2 separate regions of the Homo sapiens genome follow, and region 1 is linked to region 2. Evidence: promoter capture Hi-C in 16 types of primary human blood cells and fetal thymus (Javierre and others, 2016). All regions are on one chromosome and are shown on one strand. The core of a region is centred on a gene start or on the middle of the fragment in contact, and the rest is flanking DNA. Distances in the headings are between cores, read along the strand shown.

Region 1 (2,700 bases), core at 88-2,587, 260 kb after region 2:
CATTGAACTCTTATTGGTGATGTTTGAAGAATCGTGGGGAACCTAAAATTTGGGAGACTGGATCTATATTAGCATCAGAGAAAATTTTCATTCAATCTGAACTGATCAAAATAAGGATAGCTCCCTCTCCTTCAGGAAGCATTGAGCATGCCAGCATTTGCAAAATATATACCCGAACTTGAATTGCAAGAGCAGTTTTTTCCTTTTTGGCCCTGAAAATAACTTACAACATCCAAGAAGACTTTAAACAATCTATCTTTTACCTATTGCACAATTTGTTATTATACAATAGGGGGCTTATTGTTATTATTGTTGTTTGTAATGGTATTTCTAGGGCTTTCTATATTTCAAATGACTGACTCTTAATTCTGTTTAGTGCTGAATCACTGTTTTCCTCTTTCGTTTTTCTTTTAACTGGTAAATATTAACTTCCTTCATACAGCTCTGTCCTAAGACAGGTACAGCTAGCTTATTGGTGACAGCCGGACATGCTTGCACTGAATGACCGATGGTTTCCACTCTTCTTCTTTCCTCCTCTTTCCTAGTAGCTCAGTTCAATAAGGTTAAGCCCTTTTCTGATGGTTTGAGATACATTTAAAATGAATTTCTTATATTTATTTTTCTGGTGAAATAATATGTTATCAGGGAAACAATAGGGATTTGGCTTTTAAAAATTCATCATAGTCTTGTTAAAAAAAAAATTATTCAATGGCACTTGTGAAAGCCTGGTAAGGGAGACTTTATTCAGGAACACTGCAGTAAACAAAGGAACCACCATAACAGGGTCTTGCATTGGGAGACAGAGATTGGACTCATCTCCTAACATAGCATGGGCAAGTGAGAATTTACAGCCAAGGAGCAGGGTGGCGGTCAGTGGATGGAAAATTACTAAGAGGAAGCATCACCAGTAGGGAAATTTTGGCTAAACTGACCTAAAAGTGCTCTTGCTGAAGACAGGCGAGGGTGATCAAACATCACTTGGAGAATGGTGGCAGATAAGAGATCTGATCCGCTATTAAGGGTGATCAGATATCGAGGATGGGGAGTTCTTGCTAAACCTATTTAGCAGGGCTCTTTGCTAAAATTTTACAAAACTGGATTTTACAAGGAAGTGCACCCATGGGCCTATGAGAAGGTTCAGAAGCTTGACTAAACTATGGACAAGGAAAAAAATCTTCATTGGTCCTTACTGCCTTTTTAAAGAAACATTGGACTTCATGGCCACTAGTGAGGGTTTGGATTTAACTAATGAGTATCACTAGAAATTGGACATGCATGAGATTCACCATCCCTGTCCACCACCTCTGCTGATTGTCTTAATAACTGGTTAATTTTGCCACCTCTAAAATATCTTTCCTGCACATTTCTTCATTGTATTTATAATTTGAATTATCTTCTTTGCAACTAAGGCATTTCCCAATTTATCACCTAGTAATCTATACTCATCTTGCATATCCTTTCGTGACCTAGATTATGTGTGCAGTATATCCTTCATAAGCTCTTAAATTTAAAGGATATTTTATATTTTACAAAGCTTTTTCCCATTTTGGCCTGGCACAGTGGCTCACACCTGTAATCCCAGCACTTTGAAAGGCCAAGGCAGGAGGATCATTTGAGGTCAGGAGTTCGAGACCAGCCTGGCCAACATGGCAAAACCCGTCTCTACTAAAAATACAAAATTAACCAGGCTTGGCAGTGTGCACCTGTATTCCCAGCTACTCGGGAGGCTTAGGCACGAAAATCACTTGAACCTGGGAGGCAGAGTTTGCAGTGAGCTGAGATCGCGCCACTGCACTCCAGCCTGGGTGAAAGAGCAAGACTTTGTCTCAAAAATTAATTAATTAATTAATATTTTTAAAAAAACAAAGTTCTTTCACATCTATTCCCATGCCACTAAGTCAAGAGACTAATTTTTAAGACTTCGGGAAAGATCTATGGATCCCATCCATGCTGACTTAGAGCATAAGCAAATAGTTCATTTAAACAGCAACCCTTTAACCAGGCACAGTGGCTCACACCTGTAATCCTAGCACTTTGGGAGGCCAAGGTGGGTGGATCACTTGAGGTCAGGAGTTCAAAACCAGCCTGACAAATGTGGTGAAACCCCGTCTCTATTAAAAATGCAAAAAATTAGTGGGGTGTGGTGACACGCACCTGCAATCTCAGCTACTCGGCAGGCTGAGGCAGGAGAATCGCTTGAACCCAGGAGGCGGAGGTTGCAGTGAGCCAACATCAAGCCACTGCACTCTAGACTGTGCGACAGAGCAAGACTGTGTCTAAAAAGAGCAATCCTTGGATTTTGTTTGCAACAGCTCTAGACTATTTATCAGGAAATCACTACCATCAAATATTTTTCCAGTTCCAGCTAGGTTCAGGTGTTGCCAAGAAGTTTCTGATGAAGTGGGCTACAGGAGGGAACTTACTTCTAGATGTTATAGAACTATTGTTGTAAGATGAATTTATTTAGGTGGGCAAACTGATGAGACCAACATGAGTAACACCAAATGCCGTACACCACGCAGATGGGCAAGTTTCATGTTATACTGGGGACTCATGGGCTCATTACACCCATCTTTTGGGCCATTTTTATGTCTCAAATATCAGTTTTTATTCTGTTGTCTTAACTTATAGCCACTGAGATAACTCCCTACTGATATTTAGTTTCCAAGTTGACCTTTACAAGGCTGCCTTAACTTTGCC
Region 2 (2,700 bases), core at 11-2,510:
TATCTAGTAGCTATTTTTAAATCTATTTAGAAGGTAATGCAATTTCTTTAGATTTTGGGGCATAAATGAAGGAGAACATTTAGTATATTAAATGGAAGGAGACAAAAGATGGTAGAATTACATTTAGATAGAAATCAATAGCTTTGATCAACCTTAACATTTTAGCTAAAGGTCAACCTTTATTGGTCTAGACCTAATCATAATAGATTAGAGCATGTAAATATTTGAACTATAAAAATTCTTTAATTCATGGAGCATTTTTAAGCTGATGGATTCAAGCATAATTTACTTTGTATTTAATCTTTCTGGTTTAGACTTTATGGTTATGCCTTGGTATTATTATCAAATTGCAAATCCACTCTTGAATACCAGCTACAAGAAGACATGTTTAAAGGTAGAAGGAGGACATAACTCAGTTTGCTTTGCACATTAAAACATTTTATTTGGATTAATCAGAGATATTCAAGGAAAAACCAGGTCTGAAGATGCATGAGCATCAAGAGAGAGTTGGGGGAGCAGAGATGTCACTGAAATGATGAACTATTCCATCCTGGTCCTCTGCTCAAGCAACGCAAGCTATCCAGAACACTGATTGATACATCTTTCAGTAAGTGAATTCGGCACATCCACAGTGTCCTAACTAGGAGTTTCATTATCTCTGAGCAGCTTAACAACATCATGGTACTTAGCATCCAAGTAAAATCGAACAGTTCTTCAGAAATCAGCACAATTTTGCTGTGCTTCCCCTTTCATTCTTAAGCGATCAGCAACCTGGCTTTTAGCAGGTGGGCTCACAGCAGTGGCAGCAGCAGGCTGGGCGGCAGCAGGACTGTCCACAGTAGGACGGGCGGCAGCAGGAGGCCTCGGCGTGGTGCAGCTGGCAGCAGGATGGGGGTGTGCAGCTTACCAGGTAGCAGGGGGGCAGGCAGGTGCCCTCCACGTGGCAATCTGGGTGGCACCACCTGATACGGGTGCTCACAGATCCACCGCTGCCCTCCTGGCCATAGCCAATGCCACCACCAATGCCACAGCCGGTTCCGCAGGAGCTGGTCTGGCAGCAGCTTGGCTGGCAGCAGCTAGTTTCACAGCAGCTTGGCTGGCAGCAGCTGGAGCCACAGGTCCCACTGGTGGAACAGCTGGCCATGGTGTCAGGAGTTGGGTTGAGAGCTGTGTTAAGAGAGGTTTCTGAGTTTGGGCTGTACCTTCTATATCTGTCCTTTGATATGTTCCCTAGAGCTGCATATTTACCCAACACCTTTTCTTGATGTCAATTTCAGTGTGAGTCTCTGGCTAATACCTGAGGTGTTTATAAAGTTATAAATAGCATTTCAATAGCCTTTTTCCATTGTACAATTAAGTCTCATTATGTTTCTTCTTTGCCCTCTGGGCGAAGTGAAGGCTCATCATGGAAGCCAAGCACCGAAGTGCCTCTTTATGCAAGTCACATGACAGACTAGCCTTGAGCCAAGTGTCGCCCTGGCACGTTTTGTCATAGTTGTCCTTTGATAACCTTTAGGCAGAATTTATCTTAACTGATCATTTTTCCTTAAATGGTCACTTAACTATGATCATGATTTTATAAACAATTTGTCCAGACTTGGAAAGACTAACATTAGTGTCATCAAAACATGAACTACAACCTGATGTATCAACTTTCAAACCAAGTATGCCTTTCTATGATCAATTTGTGCAAGTTATAGGATCCTCAGAGCTCTATCTAATATTCTTGCCTTCAGTAATAGTGAATGTACAAATTGCTAACTAAAATCTTTAATGACTTTTGCTTGTAGATTGTTTTCTGACTCTATTAAATTAAACATATGTGCTAGTAATGAGTACACATTGTAACAAGTCAAAGAGTACAGAGGTATATAAAGAAAAATTAGTGTCTTTTCCCTTCCTGGAAGATGCACACATCTCTTCCAAAACTAATGCTCTAGAGGTAATCAATATTAAGAATTTGGTGCACATTCTTTGACACCTTTATCCTTGCTTCTGCAAATATAAACCAGCATATATACATATATATCTTCTATTTCAGAAAAGTTTGGGTCTCCTACACATGTTTATAGTTACAAATTTTTAATTGTGGTAAAATATACATACCATAAAATTTATGAACCATTTACATTAACCATCTTAACCATTTGTAAATAGTCTTGTCACCCTTGTTGAAAATCATTTGACCACATTCACATTCAGAAGAAATGAAATTAGACCATTGTCTCACATTATATACAAAAACCAACTTAGAATGGATTAAAAGACTGAAATGTAAGAAAGACTCAAAATGATAAAACTATAAGAAGAAAACAGAGGAAACTCCATGACTTTTGCCTGGCCAATATTGTGATATTGTGAACATGAATCCAAAAGCATCAGCAAAAATAGACAAGTGGGATTACATCAAACTAAAAAGCTTCTGCACAGCCAATAAAACACTAAACTGAGTGAAGACGCAAACCGCTGAATGGGAGAAAATATTTATAAACCACATATCTGATAAAGGGTTAATATCCAAAGTATAGAGGAAACTCAAACAACTCAATACCTGTAGTAAGAAAACAAATAACGTAATTGAAAAATGGGCAAAAAATCTAAATAGACATTTCTCAAAAAAAATCTACAAATTGCCAACAGGTATATGAAAAATTTTCAAAATCACCAATCATCGGATAATGCAAATTGAAACCACAATGA

The links. The method cuts DNA at HindIII sites, captures the fragments that hold promoters and counts their contacts. A CHiCAGO score of 5 or more calls a contact.
Region 1: a contact is called between a fragment that was not itself captured here and the fragment with the promoter of KRTAP1-4 in region 2, in 1 of 17 cell types (total B cells). The highest score is 6.8, in total B cells.

The regions. Positions count from the first base shown.
Region 1 is chr17:41,286,839-41,289,538 of GRCh38, forward strand. No RefSeq gene overlaps it. Among named protein-coding and RNA genes, the nearest start is that of KRTAP9-7, 12 kb to the left of the region's middle. The HindIII fragment of the contact is 390 bases long and covers 1,143-1,532 here.
Region 2 is chr17:41,028,935-41,031,634 of GRCh38, forward strand. KRTAP1-4 (keratin associated protein 1-4) reads right to left here and starts at 1,261. Exons shown (of 1, transcript NM_001257305.2): 1 at 417-1,261. The coding sequence starts at 1,144. The coding sequence ends at 779. RefSeq lists an enhancer at 351-900. The HindIII fragment of the contact is 2,506 bases long and covers 1-2,417 here.